Linked DNA regions of Homo sapiens: regions 2, 3, 4, 5, 6 and 7 are each linked to region 1. The links are contacts of gene promoters, found by promoter capture Hi-C in blood cells and fetal thymus (Javierre and others, 2016). All regions are on one chromosome and are shown on one strand. Each heading gives the region's core, a stretch centred on a gene start or on the middle of the fragment in contact. The rest is flanking DNA. Distances are from core to core; before and after follow the strand shown. Region 1 holds the start of RBM47-AS1 (RBM47 antisense RNA 1). Region 2 overlaps APBB2 (amyloid beta precursor protein binding family B member 2). Region 3 overlaps APBB2 (amyloid beta precursor protein binding family B member 2). Region 4 overlaps APBB2 (amyloid beta precursor protein binding family B member 2). Region 5 overlaps NSUN7 (NOP2/Sun RNA methyltransferase family member 7). Region 6 overlaps NSUN7 (NOP2/Sun RNA methyltransferase family member 7). Region 7 holds the start of NSUN7 (NOP2/Sun RNA methyltransferase family member 7).

Region 1 (3,552 bases), core at 430-2,929:
AGGCTAGAAGTTCCTAAGTTCCTTTGAGCACAATTTTGGAACTCTGATTTGCAAATTTTGTAACAGAAATTAGAGCTAATTCCTTTATAAAAATCCAGGAAGAAATAATTATTTTAATTCACCATTTCACATATGCTGAATTGTTTATTTTGAAGATGTATTAACATATAGGGAGACCATACCAGCATTTACTACCAGGCATTCTATGGCTCATGAGGTGCACCAAATATTTTGTTAAATGAATGTTTTATTTTATTCAGAATCTCTTTTCAATGAAGCATCTCACAGAACTAGTTCCATGGCAAACACTTTGGGAAATACTGAACCACAGTCTTCCCATTCATACTCCTGTTTGTTCTGAAAACATCTTATGTTGCACTTTCAAGTAGACAGAAGGAAGTAGCAGGGGCTTTTCTAGAGCCAGTGGTGGCCGTCAACAGTTCAGGCAACTTTACTTAGCTTGTCCTTGCCCACTTCTTCCTCATTTGGAAACTGCTCTTTATCCTTCAAAACTCAGCTCGAATATCCCCGCTGCTGAGACATTTTCTCCAACTTCCCCATTAGTTGGTTCTTTCTCTAAGCTTCTACAACAATTTGTATACATTAATGGTGTCATCTCTTAGGTGGGAGGTGATGGAAACCATCACATTGGCTGAAAATTGTGTATGGTCACAATTTTTTAAGGTCACAGCTTAAGAAGCTGTCCCTTTGGAGATCAGTATATTTGGTTTCTCTAAGTTGACACAGTCTGTTCCTCTCTCTGTCTCTGAGACAGATCATATTCCATCAGTTAAGTATGAGTTGAGGCAGCTGGCATGTATCTAGAGGCCATGTTTAAGGAAAAACACTGATTTTTAATTACTGTGAAATCAATTGTGTGGATGGTAGATTCTCCGCTGCCTTCTCTAGCTCACTCTGGGGCATAGACTGATTGAGTGGAATGGTAAGTAGAAGATTCCGGAATACAGTACAGAGAAGGTCCTCCTTATCCGCAGTTTCTGCATCTGGATTCAACCAACCGTGGCTTGAATAAAGACAATAAAAAATAACAATACAACAATAAAAAAATACAAATGTCAAAATACGATATAACAACTATTTACATAACATTTGCATCATATTAGGTATTATAAGTGATCTAGAGATTATTTTTAAAGTGTATGGGTCCCAAGACTTTGGGAGGCTGAGACAGGAGGATTGCTTGAGGCCAGGAGTTCAAGACCAGCCCTGGGCAACATAGTGAGACCTTGTCTCTATGAAAAAAAATTTTTTTACAGTATACAGGAGGATGTGCATAGGTTAAATGCAAATACGCCATTTTCTCTCAGGGACTCGAGCATCTGAGGATTTTGGTATCCACGGAGGTCCTAGAGCCAATCACCTGTGAGGATACTGAGGGGCAACTGTATTTCACCTTTCCCTCAGCCTTCCAGGCCTCTCACTTTCACAAGGTGGCATCACTGAGTTTGAGGATGCAGCTCCACCTTACCTCTTCAGTGGCTCTTCTCCCACTTGCTTACAATAATTGCTGTTTGCCCGCCCCTCTGCCTTTCTCTCCCTTGCTTTTGTGTCTTTGTATTCCCGTCTTCTGGGAGAGGCTTGTTGAATGAATGGATGATAGGTACATACACGTGTTCAGGAAGGCTCCTTTTTGTCTCTTCTCCTCAGGGCCGCCCAATAACTCCAGTATACACGGTGGCTCCAAACGTTCAGAGAATTCCTACTGCCGGGATCTACGGGGCCAGTTACGTGCCATTTGCTGCTCCAGCTACAGCCACGATCGCCACACTACAGAAGAACGCGGCAGCCGCGGCCGCCATGTATGGAGGATACGCAGGCTACATACCTCAGGCCTTCCCTGCTGCTGCCATTCAGGTCCCCATCCCCGACGTCTACCAGACATACTGAGGCTGGTGACCAGCACGAAGACAGACCACACAAACACCACTGAAGGAACGCTTGACTATTTATGAAGAAGGAACATGTTGGATTCACACATGCAACCTGAAAGTGAAGAATGTTAGCAGATTTATTTCTGAATTATTTTATATACATGAAGTTTTCACTAGTTTTTTAAGACTATTTTCAACTTAGCATGCCTACGTTCATACATTTCCAAAAGACTTGCAATGGTTCGTGCCTTCATTCCATCTTTTAAAAATTTGTATGCTGTACTACATTTGTATAGAGGTTTTTGTTGTTGTTTTTTTAAGGATATATTTTCAGTATGAAGGTTATTTTCTTAACTTCTGCACTCCAGAGATTTCTATTTTGTAGTACCTTCAATAATATATCAACTATATATTAAAAAAGCACACTTGAGGAGCTAGGGAACTATTTTGAAAAATATATACAATATTTAAAGATACAAACAGTAGTGCTTAAAAATACTACATAAAGCATTATTTTAAAGGTTATACTGGAAAGTGCAATTTTAAAATGAGTAAAACCTCTGTATTTCTGCTGGCATTAAGGGTTGATGGTGTTACCATGTATCATCATGGCGGTACTATTTTTTAAAAGAAATTAAACACTGGATCTCTCCTTAAGCCAACATTGAAAAGACTTGCCGCACTTCTGAGTCCAAACACTGGAAAGCTCTCCTTTGCCACCGTTAGCCGGGGCTCATTCTCCATGTGCCTTAGCCTTAAACATGCCCCCACTCCCACATCTCTCACCCTGTCCCCTCCTCCCCAGATTCCCAATCCCACCGCAATGTTTGGCAAGCCTAGGACTGATAAGTAGCTCTGATAGAGGAGCTGGTGGCTTTTATACTTCTTCCTGGGTTTTTGTTGGGGTTTGTTGTTTCGTTGTTTTTTGTTTTTTTTTTTGTTTGGTTGGGGAAGTATTGTCTTCTACGTGTGCTATTTTCAGTAGCAGAGTAAGCACAAGGTTTTAATCGAGTTGCATAAGACACCTTTGCATAGCTATTTAATTGCCCAATGTAAAACTTTAATGCCATTTCTAATGCTTTTATTCATTTTTGAAGTATGAGTTTGTAGGGACAAAGAATGTATGTTATCGTAGACAAGACCCCCAGAGACTCTTTTCAGCAGAAAGTTATGCTTCTAGTTGCCTTACCATGTTTCTTGCAAAACTGTCCATGGTCCTCAAGGGTGTTGGAAACATTATGTTTATTAAATGGGCCTCTCTTCCTTTGCTGTGCACTTGATGGGTGAACTGGATTGGGGTGTGCACATCCAGGAGGAGGAGGAGAGACCTGTAGAAGTTTAAAGATAGTTTGTAAATATCTTCTAATGCTTGTTTTTAGTCCTTTTATGTTGGAGAAGTTCATGGTATGTAGTTTAATGCAAAATGAAACCATTTTATTTCAATGTTATTAAAAAGGTTTGTTTTATTAGGAAGTTAATGTATTGTTGCAGTGTTTTGTGCCTGTTTAAAGGCTTTTGTTTAGCAGAGTGAATGTAAAATACAGTAAAATGTTAAGATTGTCATCTACTTTTTAAAAAAAAATATCAACTTGGAATTGTTTTTTAAAGGCTCAATCAAGGAAGTGAGGTGTGCAATAAGGTAGCAAGTAAAACGCAGTTG
Region 2 (3,552 bases), core at 578-3,077, 490 kb before region 1:
TTGTAAATAAGTGAAAATATTCATAATATTGTGTTCTGTTTTATGTGCTAAAGTGTGAACTGCCATCCTCTCCTTCAAAAGCAATGTGAGAAATGGGAAGCTGTATTGCATTGTCATGGAATAAGTTTCACAGAGATTGCGTTTTGCATGTGGAATTATAACCTAGATACAGAATAAACCTGAGTCTCTGGTCCATTCATCTCTGTTAAAACAAGAAGGTTCATAGGGAGAGTTAACTGATCACTCTGTTTTTAAACCTTTGCCCTGTGGATAAAAAGCACACAGCACCCTTGGTAGAGGATTCCTTGTTTTAACATCTCTTTTTCTTAAGAAGTTCACCATTACTGTTCTGCAAATACTCCTCATCATTCCAAAGCTTCTACTTCTTTGATATCCTGTAGAAGGGCAACTCTTGGTTGATATTTTCCCAACTCATTCAAATACTTTAAGATAACCCATTCCCTCTCTGATAAAATTGACCTCAACTCCCTCTACCTTTATAATTCACAGAACTCATGTTGCTTTAATTATTTTTGGTGTTTTTTTCTCTGGATAGTCTAAATTTTCTCATTGGATGAAAAAAATTCATTGAGAGATCTTAAGTACTGGTTATCTGCTTAGCACTTACCTAGGTATTGTGGGATATGAAAAAAATACACATGGGGACCCTGACCTCAGTGGCTTGTCAGGGGACCGTAGCAGGTGGTGGGATGAGTACTGTGGACAGAGGACCCCACTGTTCACCCGTCTCTGCTGCTTCCAGCCCGGGAGACCTTGGGCAAGTCACTTCCCTTTCTTTGATGGGCCTCATCCATCAAGCTGAAGACAAGAAATCTTGGAGTTCAGCTCTAAAAGCCAGGTTCTGGGGCTAGCTGGGGAGCTGGAGTTCACTTAGAGAATAGCAGAATATGAAGGTGAAGAGATGAGCTACCATCTGCAGTTGGAGTTCAGATTTGGGATCAATAAACTTCTGCAGGGCCTCAAATCACTAGACCCACCCCAGGTCCATTCAGAAGACAGTCCCAGTTGTCCCACAGGTGGCAGTAATGAGCCGCAGTCAACACAGCACAGGAGTTGCCGCCCTGACTTGACCCTGAGTGAGAGCCCTGGCCACTTGAGGAAGCCTGCAGAAGTCTGCGGTGCAGCAGAGCCCAGGGACGTGGTATCATGGCCTGCAGGCTGTGTAGGCTGCATGATACGAAGTCCTCCCCTCTTCCCTCTGACCTTCCCCACCACAGACTCCACACTCAGGTCTCCCGTTCACTGCATACTTCTGCCCCGTCACCATCTCAAGGCTTCACAACAGGATCTCACCTGCGGTTGCTTCTCTTGGAATTTTGGGAATCCATTGCCTCGCAACATCCTCTGGGTCCCTCCTTGTTTTTGTGTGATCACCAGGGTCGGTCAGTCATGCTCGCTCTCAGAATAGTTTCTAGTTTCTGGACCTCCTGGGCTTCCTTCAGTTTCTCCCTGTCTGTCTTTCCTGGTGGCCACGTACACACAGGGTAAGACATGATTGCACAGAGACACGGGTATGTTACCTACTTGGAACAAAATCCAACCACATAAGTCTACATGGGCCAAATTGTTTCTTTCAAAGGGAAACATATCTTCTTGCATTTTGAAAATCGCAGCTCAGCCAATACTGAGGAACAGTTGCCAATCTCCATGTGCAGAACGGGTGGGAAGTGACTATCTTAGGAACATGACACATGCTTCTGGAACAGGCTTGCCAATGACAGCATCCACTTTTTGCCTTCTTGTGAGCAGAAGCCACAAGGGAGCACTTCATTCTGTCTGTCTGTCTGTCTGTCTGTCTTCAGGTCTAGCCTGAGAGATGTCTCCTCCTCAGATACCTTCTCAGCTCTGGGGTTAGGTTTCTAGCCTTAATTCCAGTCTGTGGCTGACTGTGGTCTCCTTTTTCATGTCTCAGCTCTGTGCACATACATTCCTCCCCGTAGGAATTCATCATATCTAATTTACAGCAAATTCTTTAGAACAACTACCTAAAATGTTTTCTCTTCTGCAATTACCATGCCTATCTTGGCAGAGAGTTTCTTTGTATTTACTTCACCTTTGCATTACACACTGAGTTCCAGTCGGTCAGGGACCATTTCCCTGAGTGTTGGGCAGTTACCAAAGAAACTCTTTAAAGACAGACTTCACTCACACAGGGCCCAGGACCCTGCAGTGCCAGCTCCACTCCCTCAAGGCAGAGCTTCCTTCTTATTAGTCACAACTCTGGCTAATGCTCTCAGGACTTGGATTTACTCATTCGTGAAATGAGATGGCCGGGTTCCGGGGTCCCAGAGCCCTTGTGTTCTGGGTCTCCATGCTGTGGTTAAATGCTCCTCCCCCGAGAGCACAGTGCAGAATCCCAGGAGTCAGCCTGGAGAGCTCAGACTTCATAAATCTTCTCTCTGGGGTTGGGAACAGCCGTGCTTTTAATTGAAGTCTTTGTAGGTCTTTGCACGTTATGAACTCACTGAGTTCATTTCAGACACTTTGCAAAAAGTTGCAGACTTTTCATTTCTTGGTGACTGGTACAGTAAAACCTTTCTTAGAAAACAACAGTGAAAAGTGAAATTAGCCCTGAAGATAGTTATCAGTAACTTTTACTGAGTACCAGGTATTGTTTTAAGGCCAACTTCGCAGATATACATTCATTTAACACTCACTAGGATCAGGCTCTGCGCTCCGGGGCTGAGGATACTGCAGACCAAGTCCCTGCCTTTGTGTAACGTACATTCCAGGGTGTGGAGAGAGAACCACACAAGTGGAATAAAAGTACATCAGGTGAAAAGACTTACTATGGAGAAAAACAGCAGGGAAGAGTGTGAGCGAGTGCCAGGAGGAGTAGCAGCTTTAAGTAATCAGGGAGGCTTCCCAGAAGGTGACACTGAGTACGAGATGAGAGAGGGAAGCAGGTAGATTGGGAGGGTGGGGGGAGCCCATGGTGATGAGTCCTTAGTGGATGAAGGATTGGCCTGGAGGCCACTGTGCCTTTAAGCCAAAGGAATAACCAGTGGGGACAAGAGTCGGATAAAGTGTTTGAGAGGTATTTCACAGCAGGCAATGTCCTGAGTTATCTTTTAGCCCAAACCCTTCTCCCTCCTCAACTGCCCCCTTCCCCTCTCTTGTCAGATGACTAAAATGAGGTCTGAGTAAATCAGGTGACATCCTGAAGGTTCTAGTCAGTAGCAGAACTAGGACAAAAACCCAGGGACTCATGGTTTCTAGTGCCTGCAACTCACTACACCAAAATCTAGAAAGCTTAAGAGTAATTAAGCACCACCCCCCACCCTGCTATCCTATGCCCCTCCATTCTTGCTCTGTGAAGAAGGACAGATACTGCTGATTCTCATCATTTGCGGCAATTGAATTCTATAAAGTCACCAGCAACACTGAATTAGTGAATACTGAAGCATTGCTCCTAGAGGAAATACAGAGTTAGGTTCCTGCAAGCCTCTGGTCACAACATTTTCATCACCTGATCAGTATCTAGCCTTGTTTTATGTGTTTCCATTTATTTGTTTATCTATCTGTCTGTCT
Region 3 (3,552 bases), core at 702-3,201, 460 kb before region 1:
AAGTGCAGAGCTTGTGACATTACATACGTGTGCGACGCAGGAGCGAAAGTGTGGAGCTTGTGACACTACATACGTGTGCGAGGCAGGGGCCAAAGTGTGGAGCTTGTGACACTACATATGTGTGCGAGGCAGGAGCCAAAGTGTGGAGCTTGTGACATTACATACATGTGCGAGGCAGGAGCCAAAGTGTGGAGCTTGTTACATTACATACGTGTGCGAGGCAGGAGCCAAAGTGTGGAGCTTGTTACATTACATACGTGTGCGAGGCAGGAGCCAAAGTGTGGAGCTTGTGACACTACATACGTGTGCGAGACAGGGGCCAAAGTGTGGAGCTTGTGACATTACATACTTGTGCGAGGCAGGAGCCAAAGTGTGGAGCTTGTTACATTACATACGTGTGCGAGGCAGGAGCCAAAGTGTGGAGCTTGTTACATTCCATGCGTGTACGAGTGGATGAGCTTGGGTTTTCCTAAGGTCAGATTGTCAGTGGATTGTATTGATGAGGTTTTCAGCTTACCCTAACTCTTTAAAGTGAGGCCACATGCTACATGTCTGGAAGGAAACAAATGATTCAAACTCCAGTTGACAAAATTATTCAAGTTCTCTGAGCCTCAGTTCTCTCATCTGTGAAGTGAGGATCATAATAAGGACCACAACACATACGTATATGTGCATGTGCATGTGTATACAGTAATCGGTTCAGTGATAGGGACATGACAGATGCTTAATGAATGTTAGCCCTTGATTTTTAAACACACGCTAGCAGATGCAGCTAATGACATGGCTTCCTTTTAAAGACAGTGGAGGTCGGAGAGGAGTCAGACCGCAGGGAGACTTGAAGTACGCTTGATCACGTGATCTAGAGGATGAGCGGCTGTTCCAGACCCTAATGAGTTCAGTTGTCCTACAAAGCAGGAAGAGCTTCCTACTCCCTGATGAAATCAGTGTGAATTAGGTTACATTGCCTTGGTTATGTTTTTGAAACGTGGGCTGTATTACTCATGTTTTTAAATCACTTCTTATTCTCACTCAGTGTCAGCAGATGAGTGTAATTTCGAAATACGCTCAGGGTTCCACATAGCTAGCAGGACCTCAGCGAGATCATGGGAGGGTTCCACATAGCTAGCAGGACCTCAGCAAGATCATGGGGTTGTGGCTGCCTTCAGCTGGATTGGCATGGAAACGGTAAATTTTAAAAGTGTGTTTGCCAGTGAAAGGTTCTGTTTCTCCCCATTGGTCCCCTGAGTTTCCATTCCCCAGAAGAAGGGGTCTTTGTACTCCTGCTTTTTTTACTTTCCTTTGCTTTTGATTCCTTTTTTTTTCCTTAACAGCAATTTACAAGAGCAAATTCAATTTGTAATGTTGCAAAGGAAAGGGCTTTTCACTTTGCATGAATAAAACATTTTTGCTTGCGAAAAAGAAGCCCATTTCACATTCTCTTTTGTAACTTTCCTTGCTGAGAAAGTGGAATCTCTTCAGGGATTTCTTGATGTGGTTAAAATGAATAAGAGAAGTGTGTATTATACCAGACATGAAGGGCGCAAAATCTTTCTGCAAATCCAGAGTGCTTCCCTGAGCCACGTAATTTCAGAAATTATCAAAGTATTTTGGATGTGACATTTTCTTAAGGCTTTCAAGTGGTTTTGATTTACTTGGAAGAAATTCCTTCGGGAATGAGTTTACTTTGCATGAGGAGGTGATTGGCTATGACACCCCCACTGAGCCCCCCAGGGTTGAGTTGGAGAGACCTCTTACTATGAACAGCACAAGGAGTTGAGTCACATCTGATACCAGTCTTCTGTGGGGTTTTGGTTGTCGCACAACTATGCTGAAGGCTTTGTCTTGTTGAGAGCCATGTCTGTCTTTATTACGGTGTTTCTTGGGGCCCATTTGCTTTATTGCCTGGCAAAGTGAGGGCTGCCTCCTCTTTCTTGGCCATAGTTGAGTTTTGTTCCCTTTGATCAGTGAGGTAAATGTCACGGCCCCTGGAGATGGAGGCTGGGGCAAGGGGTTTCATGAGCTTTGTCTTTCCAATCTAGTTCAGCCCCAGGAGCACCCAGGTTGGCCTGCTTTGCTCCTGCCTGCTGTGCAAAGGAGGACGTACGCAGGTGTGTGCACTGGGCCTTAGAACTGGCATTTCTGCCCTTGGCGACTGAGGCCAATGACCGAATGCTCCCTTTCATCTTGTCTCTGTGGGCCTGCCAGGCTACTGTCTCAAAGGTGAGTTTGGAGGGATGTCCCTACCCAGTTTCAGGGACCTGTGCTAACTTCCGGCCTCAGCGTTCTTCTTATTCACTCAGACCCTGGCGAGCACCTTCCTCCTTATTCTTTTACAGAAGTACCAAAGCCAAGCAAACATAATTTCTTTTGTTTTTTTTTTCTCTTTTTGAGATGGAGTTTCACTGTTGTTCCCCAGGCTGGAGTGCAATGGTGCAATCTCAATTCACTGCAACCTTTGCCCCCCGGTTTCAAGCGGTTCTTCTGCCTCAGCCTCCCAAGTAGCTGGGACTACAGGCGCCCGCCACCACGCCCGGCCAATTTTTTGTATTTTTAGTAGAGACAGGGTTTCACCATGTTGGCCAGGCTGGTCTTGAACTCCTGACCTCAGGTGCTCTACATGCCTCGGCCTCCCAAAGTGCCGGGATTACAGGCGTGGGCCACTGCGCCCAGCCAAAACATAATTTCTGAACACAGGGAACTTGGAACAGGGACTCCCCTCTTGCCTCGTGGTTGATGGAGGCTTATCTTCTGGGTAGGGGCACAGAGATCCTTGTGTACTTCGCCAATGAGCCCTATAGTCTGCTCATCTCAGCCATTTCCCACAAGAAAGGAAAATGGATATTGTCAGAGGGTTTCAGACCCCGTAAATGGGATGTTTCCAAGAGGCTTCCCTATCAGTGATTAATCCACGGTTTTCCCTTGAGAAAAAAAAAAAGATTCTATAGTCACTTGGGAAACTGAGTTAAACCAAGTACACTGGGCCCTCTCAGAGGTTTTCCTACGCTGAGATGCACTAGGACTCTGCAAGAAAGCGTTTCCCAGGCTTGGCTGGACCGTTTCCTCGGTGGAAACACAATCACATGGAACACACTTCAGGAAATATTGCTGTCATTAGTAAACTCATTCATTTAAATTCGTGGCAACACTAAACTGCTATTTTTGATTATTAAGAAAAATTGGAATTACTTTTAATGAATATTATAAGTGGAGACCCCATTGGGCCTGCTCTAATGAAGATAAAATTTCTTCATAATGAATGGCAACTATGAGAAACACACTCACCCATCCAAACCCCAAGAATGGACTTAGAGGCACGAAGAACAGTGAAAGTGAGACTTTTTAATAACAGTCTTGCGAGATCGGGTATCTGGTGGGCAGGCACACCTGGGACAGTCACAACAGGTAATTTATCTCCTAGCACGCCAGTCCCTCCCCCAATTCCTCACTGGCCGAGTACTATGGGGCTACAATCTTCCTGGACATTACCTAAGTTTCATTATCCCCCTTATAAGGTTATACCTCATTCCCTTCCCCGCTTAATTTTCATTTCCC
Region 4 (3,552 bases), core at 349-2,848, 420 kb before region 1:
GCGGCGGTGGGGCGGGTGGGGGTTGGGAATTGTAAGCAGAGGAGTCATGGAATAAGTGGCTACTGAGCAGATGATGAAAGGAAGGTAATTTAAACCAAACACAGCACTTAATTACCATCACGAGCTCCAGCAGTGGTGGAACCAAAAGTCCAATGGGGACAGAGAGAGAAAGGCAGAGCAGAGGCTACCTCCAGTGAGGGATGGGGTCCTGAGCAGAGCCAATTAACTGGGAGGGAGCCAGGCTCAGGTGCTAGGTGCCCCAGAGCTACACGGCAGGAAAGAGCCCAGCCAGCAGGCCTGTGTTCTGTTTGCAGATCTACCACCTGCTAGCTGTGGGCTTTGGAGCAAGTCAACTTAAACTCTCTGACCCTTCAATTCCTCATTTGTAAAATGAGTCGTGATGCTTCCCCCTGCAAGGTTATTGTGTGGCTTGGCGACAGTGCGCAGCAAGAATAGAGCCTGGCTAGACAGAAGCAATCATAGCCAGGAGCCGCTACTGTTACTTGGTTAGTGGTAATCAGCCTTCCTAGGGTTGGTGTCTGCTTTTCTTTAGATATTATTGAGTTTACATTATACCAGAAATACTTGTATCTAGATGGAAGTTAACAAAATTCAGGACTGGGCATAGTGGCTCATGCCTGTAATCCAAATACTTTTTTGAGAAGCTGAGGTGGGTGGATTGCTTGAGCCCAAAAGTTTGAGACCAACCTTTGCAACATAGTGAGACCTCATTTCTACAACAAATAAAAAATTAGCCGGGTATGATGGCAAACACCTATAGCCCCCGCTACTTGGGAGGTTGAGGCCGGAGGATTGCTTGAGCCAAGTAGTTTGAGGATGCAGTAAGCTATGATCGTGCTACTGGACTCCTGCCTGGGCAACAGAGCGAGATCCCATCTCTTAAAAAAAAAAAAAAGCAAGCAAAAACAACAAACAATTCAAATGAAGGCCATATGTATTGGCTTTCCATGTTATCTACCCTAGTACTCCTTTGAACTGGCACAAAGAAAGCCCCTTGAAAATTCAGAAAGTGATTCACCATATCCACAAGAGGTCCTCCATGTGGCTGGGTGCTCACCGTGGTTTTAAGTAGGAGGCTTGTCTGCACCTTGCCAGGAGTTTGTACCCTCATGGCATTCTGGCATGGAAACCACTGTGCTGTCATTTTCCCTGCTCAGAATCAGTTCTAAATCCTTATGCGTTCCTGTGCTTTGTCAGATAGGAGCCTTCTGGTGTCAAGGTGTTTCGTGTTGTTTTATTTTTTTGAGACGGTCTTGCTCTGTCACCCAGGCAGGAGTGCAGAGGCACGATCTCAGCTCACTGCAACCTCCACCTCCCGGGTTGCAGTGATTCTCACGTCTCAGCCTCCTGAGTAGCTGGGACTACAGGTGTGCGCCACCATGCCTGGCTAATTTTTGTATTTTTAGTAGAGACAGGGTTTCGTCATGTTGGCAGGCTGGTCTTGAACTCCTGGCCTCAAGTAATCCACCTGCCTCAACCTCCCAAAGTGCTGGGATTACAAGTGTGAGCCACCATGCCTGACCTGGTATTTTTTATTTTTGTTTTACCATCTTGGCTTTCAGAAAGGAAGCTAACCCATGGTTTCACAGTTCAGGTAGAATTTATATAACGTTATCCTTTCATTATACCCTAAACTTTAAAGTTGAAACTGGAACATGGTGTAAATTATCTCTCACTTAATAACTAACTATAATTTGTGTGTGTATTCTTCTCTCAGATATTCAGAGATGCAAGATTTTTGCATTTGGTTTTTTGTTTTTTTTTTAATCTGTGATATAGCACAGATGAAAGCTGAAGCTCGTTAATTCTTGCTTAAAGTCTTCAAAGATGGACTTTTAAAAATACTCGTTTCCTGGTTGCTTTTAAATATCCTTTTTCCCTCCTCCTCATTAGTAAGCAGGCTGGTAACTATTGTGTCTTCCCTCCAATGGCATGAGAAAGTCCTTTGTTTAGAATAATGTGCCTTGAATTTCAATAACCTCAACCACTTTAACTCCTGGCTTTACACTTCTAAGTGCTGGAAGTCTAACTTTCCCATCATGGCGCTGCTGGGCAGGACAGTGAGGTGGGAGGGGAGCTTGCTTTGGAAAGGAAGGCACACTTGGTCAGAGACGGTTGTTCATGTCACCGGTTGATCCTGGGAAGGATAGAACCTTTCCCTGAGATGAATTCTCTAAATATCAGCCAGAAATCAGATGGTAAATTTGCATAAATTCAGTATTCATTTCAGTTCAGAGGCCTTTCACCTGCGGCATGTAGATTCTAAAGGGACCTGGGATTGAGTTTCAAGAATCACTGAACTGTTCCAGCTCTGCCCCCTTCCAAAATTGTGTATAAAATTGTGAGTCTGTGCACTTTTTTTTTTTTTTTTTTTTTTGGAGTGTTTTCATCCGAGGGCCTTGATCCAAAACAGGTCAGGAACCTTTCCTTTCTCCTCGTGGAGCTCCCCTTCCCTCTCTCACATAGTGATTGGCCTGGCCTGCACTGTAAGGCCATACTCAAGCCGCCATCCTGTAGGAGCTTTATATGGATTAAATAATGGAATTTTATGGCACTCTCAGGACCTGAAGGCCTCTATGATTCCCATTTCACAGATGAAGAAACTGAAAAACAAAGAGGCTAAGGGCCCTGACCAAGGGCAGACAGCTGATAAATGACACACACACACACACACACACACACACACACCCCACTCACACCCACCCACCCACCCACCCACACCCACCTACCCACCCCTGAAGCTGGAGGGAAAAAATAAACTGTCAGACTCAGGAGCTGGTGCAAGAATTTTCATGATGTAAAGTTTTGCAGTGTTTACTTCATTGTCCTGTGGATAATGGTGTGATGTGTGCTCAAAAGGCTAGAGAGATGGCCAGTGATGAAAGACAAACATCAAAAAGAAGCATGCAACAGAGACTTCTGCAAAAATGGAGTGAGAAGTCTACTGGCAAGTCCTTGCCTCGCGTGCTCAGTTTGTGAAAAGTGGACAGTTGTGCGCAGCATGAGAAGTAGGTGGCTGTGCCAGGGAACAGGAGATGGCGTCCTCTTCCAAAAAGCTGGAATAGACATTGTCATTCTGGTGTGCTGGTTTTTTTTTTTTTTTTTTTTTTTTTTTGAGGAATTTCCTTTTCATTTGGATTCCAGTTACACATGCCAGGTACTTCTGTTATTTCAGGCTTATATTAATGAAAACATTGCCAATTACTCCGGCATTTATTTTCCCAAGGAACAGCCACGGAGAGCATGCTGATCAGGCAGCCTTGGGATGTGCGGCTCATGTGGAATTAATCTTGGGGTTTAATTCTTCCCACTGGCATCTTGTACAGCGAGAAGGGAGTAGACTTACGCCTGGCACTAAATTTAGCCTTCTCCACTCTCAGACTGGTTTGTCTTGTGCAGAAGCCCAGCTTTGGACTGATGTTTTCTTCCCAGCAAATTTACAAGGTGCTGAATTGGTGGAGCTGCTGGCACTGTCTGTGACTCTTCTGGGTTTCTGAATGACATTTCAAATATCACTCTGCGGTGTCTTAT
Region 5 (3,552 bases), core at 563-3,062, 370 kb before region 1:
ATGACATGTAATATTGCTTTCAACTCTAAATTCTACCACTTTGGGGTACTAAGAAGTGATTCTTGGTATAATTCCCTAGGTAATGCATAATTTCTTTTGGCAGCATCCCCAACAAGTAGTTATAAACATCTTCAATATATGTACTCTCCAATTTGAGCTCAAATCTCAAACCAATATAGAATTATGGATTCTGTCTTTATATTACTTGTGTCTTTTATGCTATAGATTAATCATTAATCATGGCTTGCCTAAAATAAAATCAATATTCCTCCACGTTTGCCATATCATATTCTTTTTTTTTTTTTTTAAACACACAGGGTTTCACCATGTTGCCCAGGCTGGTCTTGAACACCTGAGGTAAAGGTATGTGCCCACCTCAGCCTCCCAAAGTGCTGGGATTACAGGTGTGAGCCACCGCACCAGGCCAGCCATATCATTTCTTAAATCCCAGCACTTTGGGAGGCCAAGGCAGGTGGATTACCTGAGGTCAGGAGTTTGAGAGCAGCCTGGCCAATACGGTAAAACCCCCATCTCTACTAAAAATACAAAAATTAGCCTGGCGTGGTGGCACTTGCCTGTAATCCCAGCCACTTGGGAGGCTGAGGCAGGAGAATTGCTTGAACCTGGGAGGCGGAGTTTGTAGTGAATCGAAATGGTGCCACTGCACTCCAGCCTGGATGACAGAGCAAGATTCCATCTTTAAAAAAAAAAAAAAAAAAAAAAAAAAAAAGAAAAAGGCCCTATGGAATCTTGGTTAAATTTGTAAGAAGTCAGGCAATTTTATCATACTAAAGTATAATTTTAAAAAGTAGAATGTCTTTATACAACTTAGAAAATAATATTTTTCCTTTTAAAAAATATTTGTTTGAGTTGTTTAGAAGAATCCTTCCTTTTCTTACCTGTAAGGTTGTCCTTTATTCCCAAGGTCTTGAAATTCCAGTGCTTTCTTAACAACAGCTTCATTTTCTTCTGGAAAAACTGAACATGTGCAGTAAACAACTGCTTGAGCTTTAGTAACTATATTAGAAGAAGATGCAATGACTGTAACAACTATATTAACAATCCTATACAAATGTGCTATGTTTCCAAACATCTATTTGATACTAATACCACATGGTTTTGATGAGAATAATTTCCCCAGATGCTTGAATGGCTCCCCTTTAAAGTAAAAGCTTGTCTTAGTAATTTAGTCTGTGGCCAGTAAGTAAAGTCACTCTAACTGGATTGTATGGAAATTGAAAATTCAACAAAAAATGAGGCCAACTTAGTTATAAACACAAATAAATAAATACTGCAGGTTACCATGAACTTGATACTTCTGCCCATTCTTCTACAAGCGATATTGCCTAAATAGTTTAAAGGACTCTAGAAACAGACAGACTTAGAGGTGAATCCCAGTTCTGTCACTTACTGCTGTATGAACCTGGGCAAATTACTTAAAGTCTTAAATTTTTCATCCGTAAAATGAGGTAATACTACCACCTGCAATTCACTCATTGATTCATACTTATTGAGCACCTACCACCTGCCAGACAGGCACTGTTCTAGGCTTTGGGATACAATAACACAAACAAAAATCCTTGCCCCTGTGGAGCTAACTTTCTAGTAGAGGAGAAAGACAGTAAGACAGAGATAAATAGGAAAACTATATAGTACTGTTAAGTGATCAATGCTATGGAGAAAAGCAGAGCCGGGTGAGGGATAGAGAGTTCCAGGAGAAATAGTGTGAAATAGAGCAGTGAGAGAAAGCATTGTTGAGATGGCAAACTGTGGGTAGACTAGATGGAGATAAGGAACCAGCCACAGAGCTATTTAGAGAAAAGCATTCTAAGGTAAAGGAACAGCCAGTGTAAAGGCCTGAAGTCAACATGGTGCTGGTATGTTCCAGGAAAGTGAAGGGGCCGGTTTGATCAGAGCAGAGGGAATGAAGAGAGAGTAGTAAGTCGAAGTCAGAAAGCATGGTCTGAGCCCCAGATAGTACAGGGACTTGTGGGCCACCGGAAGGGCTTAGGTTTTTACTTGGGTTATGATGGGTTTTAACAAGATCACTCCAATTGCTGTGTTAAGAATAGAGTGCAGAGGGCAGGGGCAGAGGCTGGCAGAGAAATTAGGAGGTCATTACAGTAATTCAAGTGTGAGGTGATGGTGGTTTGGACACCGTGGTAGTGGTGGAGGTAGCTGGATATATTCTGGATATAAGTTGAATGTAGAACCTACCTCATACACTGACAGACTGGCTGTGGGTATGAAAGAGAAATCATGGATAATGCTAACGTTTTTAGCCTAAGCGGGTGGAAGGCTACAACTATCATTAACTGAAATGGCAGTACTGTGGGAGGAACAAGTATGGCGGGAGGAAGATCAGAGCTTCCACCTTAGACATGTTAGCTTTGAGATGACTATGAGTCCCTAAGTGGAGATGTCAAGAAGGCAGCTGGAAATATAAGCTTAGAGTTTCAAGAGGAAGTTTAGACTGGAAATACAGATTTGGGAGTCACATAGAGGTGTTTAAAACCATAAGACTAGATACAATCACCAAGGGATAAGTATAGGCAGAGAAAAAAGATCCAAGGCATGGACTGTGGCACACTCCCATGTTAAACAGGGTGTTGAGACAGAGAGGACCCAGTAAGGGAGACAGAGAAGGGGAGGCCAGAGAGAAGGCCTGGAAGGTGGTGCCCTAGAAGACAAGTGATGGAAGTGTGTGAAGGGAGAGGAAGCGACCACTTCTGTCAACTGCCACAGACAGACCTAGGTAGACCAGGGCTGGCAACTGACACAACAGCATGGGGATCACTGGCGATCTTCACAGGACCGTTTCAGTTTAGTGGCAGGAGTGAACGTGTGATGGCAATAGCTCAAAAAAGAAGGAGAGGAAAGACTGAGGAAACACTGTTCCCAGGGGAAAGGCAAGTTACAGGAATTTTTTACAAAGGGGGAGGACATTCAAAGAAGTTAAAATATAGGGAATTTTTGTTGATGAGGAACTATAAATTCTAGAGAGCACAGAGTGAGAGATGTGGACAAAGGGATATGAAGAGAGTTATGGAGACCAGAGTATAGGAGATGAGGAATGACCTGGAGTCGGGGCCTCTTGAGTTAATTGTCATTAATAGGTGTAAAGGATATAAGGAGACATGTTTCTTATAACTTGATTTATTTGTATTTTTTTAATAGATGGGGTCTTGCTCTGTTGCCTAGGCTGGAGTGCAGTGAGGTGATCATGGCTCACTGCAGCCTCCAACTCCTGGGCTCAAGCAATCCTCCCACTTCAGTCTCCCGAGTAGCCTGCATGCCCCCATGCCTAGATAACTTTTTTTATTTTTTGTAGAGGCAGGGTCTCACTATGTTGTCCAGGTTGGTCTCAAACTCCTGGCCTGAAGTGATCCTACCATGTTGACCTCCCAAGCACTGGGATTTCAGACATGAGCCACCATGCCTAGCCCACTTATTTATTTATTTATTTAGAGACAGAGTCTCACTCTGTCACCCAGGCTGGAGTGCAGTGGTGCAATCTCAGCTCACTATAACAAGTGATTCTCATATCTCAGC
Region 6 (3,552 bases), core at 570-3,069, 350 kb before region 1:
CCCATGCTTAAGTCTAGATATTTTCTTCAGGCCTATCAGTTCACTCATTGTATCTTCATTTCTGTGTAATTTACTGTAAAATCCATATCTCATTTATTTCCTAATTTCACACATTGTATTTTTCAGTTCTAGAACTTTCTTTTAGCTTTTTTGATTATAGTTTCCAGGTCTTTGCTAAAATTCTAAAATTTGACATTTAGTCCCTCCAGCTTATTAATCATAGTTATTTTAAAGTGTACATTTTTAGTCAGGTGCAGTGGCACCTGCCTGTAATTTCAGCTACTTGAGAGGCTGAGGCAGGAGGATTGCTTGATCCCAGGAGTATGAGATCAGCCTAGGCAACATAACAAGACCCTGTCTCAAAAAAGTAAAACTAAAGTCCACGTCTGATAAATCCAGTATCTCCAGATACACTGTGGGTCTGCTTCTACTGCAGTGCTTTCTGTTTTAGTCATATCTTTTCTTGTTCTGTCAGTGTTTTATAAAATTGAGTGGTAGATATTGCATTAGAAAAAATTTAGAAGATACAGGCCGGGTGCGGTGGCTCACGCCTGTAATCCTAGCACTTTGGGAGGCCAAGATGGGTGGATCACCTGAGGTCAGGAGTTCGAGACCAGCCTGGCCAACATGGTGAAATACAAAAATTAGCGGGGCATGTTGGCGAGTACCTGTAATCCCAGCTGCTCAGGAGGTTGAGGCAGGAGAATCGCTTGAACCCGGGGGGCAGAGGTTGCAGTGAGCCAAGATGGTGCCAACTGCACTCCCGCCTGGGCAACAAGAGGGAGACTCCATCTCAGAAAAATAAAAAAAAATTTAAAAAAATGAAAAAAATTAGAAGATAATTAGAAATGTAGGATGATGTTGTTTTCCTCCAGAGGGAATTTACTTTTGCTTCTGGCAGGCAGCTAAGACTGGGCACTAGCAATCCCAGATCACCTTAATCTAATTGGGAATTAAGATGACTGGAATGGGGGTTCTAATTCTTTGGAGGACTGATCACTATCCAAGATGTACTTCGGGACTCCAAGTGAAATCCTGAGTATTTACCAGGCTACCTCTCCTGGTCAAATCCTGAATTCCACTTTTTGTCTCCCTATCCCTGTGAATCTGTTAAAAGTTTTGCTTAGTTTTTCAGCCTCGCTGAACCTATAATAAAATGTAATCTTTAGTTAGAATGATCCAATGGAAACATTTTTAAAAAACAAGAAGCCTAAAAGACAGCTCCTAGGCCAGGCCTGGTAGCTCACGCCTCTGTAATCTCAGGACTTTGGGATGCCCAGGCAGGTGGATCACTTGAGCCCAGGAGTTTGAGATTAGCTTGAGCAACACTGCAAAACCTTGGCTCTACAAAAATTAGAAAAATTAGCCACGCATAGTGGCATGAGCCTGTAGTCACAGCTACTTGGGAGGCTGAGGTTGGAGGACCTCTTGAGCCCAGGAGGTAGAGGCTGTGGTGAACTGTGATCATATCAGTACACTCCAGCCTGGGCAACAAAGTAAGACTTTATCTCAAAAAAAAAAAGACTTAGCTTCTAGTCCTAGATATTATCTTTGTCACTTAAGCACTTATTTAAGTATTTATTAAATGATAATCATTCTTATTTATTAAATGATACATTTCTACTTTAAATGTTTGAGCCTCAAATTATGTGAGCTAAATGTCAAACAGTATTACAAAGTACCAAGAAATTAATTTAACCCACAGTTGTTTAACCAAATTAAGCAACAAGGACAGCCTGATAAGACATAGATTAGTAAGGATTTTAAGATATTAGTTCACATATAGAGCTTTTACATTACAAAAAAACTAATAAATTAAAACTTTTTAACGTTTCTAAAATCTTGCAGAACAATAATCACCAAATGAAGAAATATTTTTACATACTTTTACATCCTATTTTTGTGAAAAGGGTCTTCAAGTCAGGATCCTTAGCTTGTGATTGTACTCCACACACAAATACTTTTGAGGTATTATTATTTGTTAAAATTGACATGTGGGAAACTGTGTACCATGAGCCTGTATTGACCATTAAGACATCATCATCCATATTTAATAAAGCCTTTACAGAATGGACAGCAAGACTTCGAGATTTGTCCTGTAAGATAATGGTATGATTAGAATTTCAAAGGGTATGGCTAGAAATATAAGCTGACTTCTATTTGCTTTACATAAAAGAAAGTACCTCATAGTAATATTAGAGACCTAACCAATTTTAGTTTTAACATCTTAATATATGTCTAAGTAAAGAGTTAACAAAGACAACTGATGTTTAAAACAAAGAGCTTAACTTTGTTTAGCCTAAATTATGACTGTTACTGTCTAAGTTTTGTATAAAGCAATGCCAGAATCTCTAAAATATGGTCAACAGATTAATGATGTCCTATCTTAACTCCCATTCTTACCCCTTCACAAAAACCCACTCATCTACTACTTCCATTTTCTCTTCCCCATTACCTTGTCACCTAAATTGCCACTAGCTCACAGAGATTAAAATTAATATATTTGAGAAGCTCATCAAAGGGGGCTTGACAGGTTGGGCTTCTGCAGTTGATCTCAGTGCTTGATATGGTAAGAGATTCTGCCCAAGAATATGAATGTGGAAAAGGGATAAACCTTAGAAGATCAAGGTATATCTGAGGCAATAATTGGAATCTAAGGATGTAAAAATGAATTTAAACTACTTTTTTATACCTTTTATTTTCGTTCTGTTGAAACTACATTATACCTCACATTCTCTTCCTATATTGATAGCCTTTATATACCTCTTACAAATCAAAGCTATAAGACTATATTAAAGAAATTATGAAAAACTATTACAATTGTTTTTTCATATGCAAGATGGCACTAGCATCTTCCCCAGAAAGGGAAGGAAGAAAAGGTCTCATTGTACTTTCTCTTGAATTCTCCTTTAGGGGAGAAAAGTAGAACCTTACAGCTGCCAGCAATGCAAATCTTCCCATTCATGGAATCTGGGAGAAGAATATGTTCTTTATAAATTCACATGAGACAAAGACGCCAACCAGATGCACTGATTGTAGAGGTATTAATTTTATTCAAGGTGACAATTAGGCCTTATAAACCTCCCTGATAATCTATAAAAATATAAACAGTGTTAGGTTTTATTTTTAAGTGGAGAAGTTCTTTGGCTAGGTTGGATTGTTGAGAATCACAATGAAAGTAAATATTAGTTTACCTGAAATATAAGTTTGTAATCTTTGAAAAGATCTATATTTATAAGATCATTTTTAAGATGAGATGGAAAAATTAAGACATCATAGCAATGTTGATCCACAGCAAAGACTTTATCATCAATATGCAATACAGATTTGACTTTATTATAGCCTCTTCTCTTCAAATTATTATAAACTTCTTCAGGGCTGTAAATATACAACATTAGCTTGTAATTACAAATATAATACATTAAAAACGTCCTTAACACTAACACCTTTTTCCTGTAACAAAGAAAAATATCACTTCATACATTACATCTAATGGAACTAACAATTTTAACCAACAATAAACTAAAAGATAATTATAGGCAGAGAAGTTAA
Region 7 (3,552 bases), core at 297-2,796, 320 kb before region 1:
GTTTTATATTTGTGAAAGCTCATAAACTAAAATACCAAAAAAGGTAAACACAGGGAATGGAAAGAAATACACAGGGAGGCCAGGCGTGGTGGCTCACTGCCTGTAATCCCAGCACTTTGGGAAGCTGAAGAGGGAGGATTCCTTGAGGTCCAGAGTTTGAGACCAGCCCAGACAATAAAGCGAGACCCCTAAGTCTACGAGGGAAAAAAAAATACAGGGAGAGGGAAATGATCATTGGAATAAATTGTTTCCTTGTTGAATGTAATGACCGCGCACTACACCGATCTAAGGACAAACACAGTGCACGGGGAAATCTGCAATCCTGGGCTGGAAGAGCTAGTTTCATGGGAACCCTAATTCCTTGACACTTGCAATTAACCAAAGATATGCACATGCCTAAAACCAAAACCTGGTGTGAATGAGGGGAAGGGAGGAGGAGGGCTGCATTCCCCAAATTCTCTCGCTATTATTTTCTTTTAGTGTTGATCTTCCAGACTGGCACAACTCACATTTCAGGGCACTGAAAGCCAGCTCATAAGACAAACGCTGAAAGGACTGATCCTCAGACTCGGACAAGGACCGCAGGGGTTCATTCCCATACTTGATTAAGACTTTCTGTGCCGACTTTTCGATTCGAATACCCTGAAAAATGTTGGCTGCCATGACATAAACGGAGTCCGGATAGCCCGTTTTTTCGGGCACACCAGCTGAGCTTTTCCCACCGGACAGAGGCAGGGAAGTGAGTTGGGAGATGATCTCGGGATCTTCTTCGTTCGAAAACTCCAGTTCGCCCGTGGAATTCAGCATGTCTGCCCCTCGCCTGTCGTGAGTCCTTCACCCTGGGGTTAGAATTCCGATGTTCCAGGAAACGGCTTTCCTCGCATCTGCAGCATGGTCTCTGTGAAGAGAGAAGGTGATTGCAGTAAATCACTCTTTCTGCAGCACCCCTGTGGGTGGCCCCCTTCGTTGTGGCCTTAAAGACTAAGAGGGAGCATTTCCCGTCCCATCTGAGTGTCCCAGACTTCGAGCCTGGGACGCTCAAAAAAAAAAAAAAAAGCGAGGAGGGGTGCAGCGGCGGAGGGAGAAGAGCCCCAAGGAGACCGACGGCTTCCCTCAAGCCAGTCTGGGGGCAGAGCTGCCCCCGGAGCCCCGTCCGCGTCCCCACAGCCCAGTCACCGGCTCCCCCGACTCCTCCCTTACCCCGAGGGCGGATGGTTCCCGGGGCTTCGGGGACGAAGACGCGGAGGGCGGCGTCGGTCACAGGCCCTTGGGAGCCCCGGGACTGCGGGGCGACGGCTGCTGCCCGCGAAGGCCGTTTGGTTCAAATGCAGCCACTCCCACCGGCAGGATTCGGGGCAGGGGGGTCGCAGCCTCTGGCGCCCGGTTCGCTCCGGTGTCGTGAAGTGGTGGGCGCCTCGGGGCCTCGCCTGGCCTCGCGCGTGAGGCCTTCGCGGACGTGGCGGCGAAGAGGGGTGAGCGCGGTGCCCGGGGTCTGGCTGGCTCAGGCCGAGGAAAGCTCAGCCTCCCGAGTCTCCGGCAGTCGACTGCTCCCGGACCGGGTCTTCATGGCAACCGCGAGCGGAGGTGGGGCAGGGGGCGCGGCGCGAGGGCCGTTCCCGCGGGATTTGGCGGGTGCTACCTGTTGCCGGGAGAGTCGCTCTTCCCCCAGCGCGCGGAGACACCTGTTTCAGCCCCTCCGAGCCAGAGGCCTCTTGCACAGTTCCTGGACCTCACCGGGCCTGAGTGCGTGCCCTTGGCTTTGTTTATAAACATTTGGGGATATTTTTGAGGTAGTCTGACGTAGTTCCGTGGTTTTAACTCACAAGTTCCTGAAGTCCCTGTTAAAACTACACATTCTTTAAAATATTTTTAAAATATAGTAATAATTTTTTTTTTGAGACATGGTCTCGCTCTGTCGCCCAGGCTGGAGTGCAGTGGCGCAATCTCGGTTCACTGCAGCCTCCTCCTCCCGGGTTCACGTGATTCTCATGCCTCAGCCTCCCGAGTAGCTGGGACTACAGGCGCCCGCCACCACACCCTGCTAATTTTTGTATTTTTAGTAGAGACAGGGTTTCACCGTGTTGATCAAGTTAGTCTCGAACTCCTGACGTCAAGTGATCTGCCGGCCTTGGCCTCCCAACGTGCTGGGATTACATGCGTGAGCCACTGCGCCGTCTGTAATAATTTTTTTTAATAACAGAGACAGGGTTCCCATTATGTTGCCCAGGGTGGTCTCGAATTCCTGGGCTCAAGGAGTCCTCCCTCCTCGGCCTCCCAAAGTGCTGGGATTTCAGGCGTGAACCACCGCCTCCAGCTAAAAAAAAATCCTTGGAACCCATCCTAGAGATTTGAGTTGCTAAGACCCAGTAATTTGCATTTTTATCAGGTAACTGGCGATTCTGATGCAATCAGCCCAAAGACCACAGTTTGAAAAACTCTGGTATAGTTGAAAGACAACTGGTCCTAATTCCACCTCTGCCTTTCCTCCTTAGGGATTTGCCCTTCCTTCTTTAGGCTAAGGCCATTTCCATTTCCAGCCAGTGGTTAGTAGGATGAAGGGGAAAGAGAGGGCAGCCCATATTTTTCAATGACCTGAAAGGTGCACATATCACTTTGGCTCACATTTTATTGGTCAGAACTCAGTCATATACCCAGCAACCAAGAGGCTGGTAAATGTGTCCAGCTAAAAATAAGGGAACTATTACTGTAGAAGAAGGAGAGAATGGATAATGGGGAAAAAATTAGCAGTACAGAACTCTAACCCTGACCCCTTCTCTCAGAAATCCACCCACTTTCATTATCCCCGGAATACGTTAAACATTCCGTAACATTTTATGTATACATGCATTCATTCGTTCGTTTAACAAGTATATATTAAATTCTTGCTGTGTCCCTGGCATTGTGTTCAGCCCTACAAGTAAAATAATGAATGTATAGAAATGATCAGACACCTGACCGGGCGCGGTGGCTCACGCCTGTAACCCCAGCACTTTGGGAGGTCGAGGCGGGCGGATCACGAGGTCAGGAGATCGAGACCATCCTGGCTAACACGGTGAAACCCCGTCTCTACTAAAAATACAAAAAAATTAGCCGGGCGTGGTGGCGGGCGCCTGTAGTCCCAGCTACTCAGGAGGCTGAGGCCAGAGAATGGCATGAACCCGAGAGGCGGAGGTTGCAGTGAGCCGAAATTGGGCCACTGCACTGCAGCCTGGGTGACAGAGCCAGACTCCGTCTCAAAAAAAAAAGAAATGATCAAAGACCTTGCCCTCAAGAAATTAAAGATGGATATATTTGTATTTTGTCACCTTTTCATTTTTGTTATAAAGATTCGTGTACATACCTGCATTACCCCCCTTCTGCCATCTTTCTATCCACACAACACACACACTCTAAAATAGTCTTGTTTTATCTTTATCTTTTCATTTTTATTATATATCTTTTTTATTCCCAGATGCTAGCAAAATATCACTCTCTTTCACATACAGACATTCACAGAAGATTACAAATATGGAAGGTGTCTTAGAGGTCATGATATATTTTATCATGCATCAC

Evidence for each region. The method cuts DNA at HindIII sites, captures the fragments that hold promoters and counts their contacts. A CHiCAGO score of 5 or more calls a contact.
Region 2: a contact is called between a fragment that was not itself captured here and the fragment with the promoter of RBM47-AS1 in region 1, in 1 of 17 cell types (neutrophils). The highest score is 6.2, in neutrophils.
Region 3: a fragment that was not itself captured here is called in contact with the fragment with the promoter of RBM47-AS1 in region 1 in 1 of 17 cell types (neutrophils); the score reaches 5.3 in neutrophils.
Region 4: a contact is called between a fragment that was not itself captured here and the fragment with the promoter of RBM47-AS1 in region 1, in 1 of 17 cell types (neutrophils). The highest score is 12.6, in neutrophils.
Region 5: a fragment that was not itself captured here is called in contact with the fragment with the promoter of RBM47-AS1 in region 1 in 1 of 17 cell types (neutrophils); the score reaches 5.9 in neutrophils.
Region 6: a fragment that was not itself captured here is called in contact with the fragment with the promoter of RBM47-AS1 in region 1 in 1 of 17 cell types (neutrophils); the score reaches 7.3 in neutrophils.
Region 7: the fragment with the promoter of NSUN7 here is called in contact with the fragment with the promoter of RBM47-AS1 in region 1 in 2 of 17 cell types (neutrophils and total CD4 T cells); the score reaches 14.9 in neutrophils.

Annotation. Positions count from the first base shown.
Region 1 is chr4:40,424,260-40,427,811 of GRCh38, reverse strand. It overlaps RBM47-AS1 (RBM47 antisense RNA 1), which reads right to left and starts at 1,679. Exons shown (of 2, transcript NR_199039.1): 1 at 1,630-1,679; 2 at 230-1,024. It overlaps RBM47 (RNA binding motif protein 47), which reads left to right. Exons shown (of 7, transcript NM_001098634.2): 7 at 1,669-3,552. The coding sequence ends at 1,908. RefSeq lists an enhancer at 1,191-2,390. The HindIII fragment of the contact is 3,876 bases long and covers 584-3,552 here.
Region 2 is chr4:40,914,580-40,918,131 of GRCh38, reverse strand. The region is part of intron 10 of APBB2 (amyloid beta precursor protein binding family B member 2); the gene reads left to right. Among named protein-coding and RNA genes, the nearest start is that of NSUN7, 170 kb to the right of the region's middle. The HindIII fragment of the contact is 2,897 bases long and covers 379-3,275 here.
Region 3 is chr4:40,885,317-40,888,868 of GRCh38, reverse strand. The region is part of intron 12 of APBB2 (amyloid beta precursor protein binding family B member 2); the gene reads left to right. Among named protein-coding and RNA genes, the nearest start is that of NSUN7, 140 kb to the right of the region's middle. The HindIII fragment of the contact is 6,616 bases long and covers 1-3,552 here.
Region 4 is chr4:40,845,173-40,848,724 of GRCh38, reverse strand. The region is part of intron 12 of APBB2 (amyloid beta precursor protein binding family B member 2); the gene reads left to right. Among named protein-coding and RNA genes, the nearest start is that of NSUN7, 97 kb to the right of the region's middle. The HindIII fragment of the contact is 8,965 bases long and covers 1-3,552 here.
Region 5 is chr4:40,796,252-40,799,803 of GRCh38, reverse strand. NSUN7 (NOP2/Sun RNA methyltransferase family member 7) reads right to left here. Exons shown (of 12, transcript NM_024677.6): 10 at 900-1,017. Among named protein-coding and RNA genes, the nearest start is that of NSUN7, 48 kb to the right of the region's middle. The HindIII fragment of the contact is 1,275 bases long and covers 1,175-2,449 here.
Region 6 is chr4:40,774,593-40,778,144 of GRCh38, reverse strand. It overlaps NSUN7 (NOP2/Sun RNA methyltransferase family member 7), which reads right to left. Exons shown (of 12, transcript NM_024677.6): 6 at 3,195-3,378; 7 at 1,886-2,096. Among named protein-coding and RNA genes, the nearest start is that of NSUN7, 26 kb to the right of the region's middle. The HindIII fragment of the contact is 8,749 bases long and covers 1-3,552 here.
Region 7 is chr4:40,747,949-40,751,500 of GRCh38, reverse strand. NSUN7 (NOP2/Sun RNA methyltransferase family member 7) reads right to left here and starts at 1,546. Exons shown (of 12, transcript NM_024677.6): 1 at 1,201-1,546; 2 at 510-898. The coding sequence starts at 807. The HindIII fragment of the contact is 13,723 bases long and covers 1-3,552 here.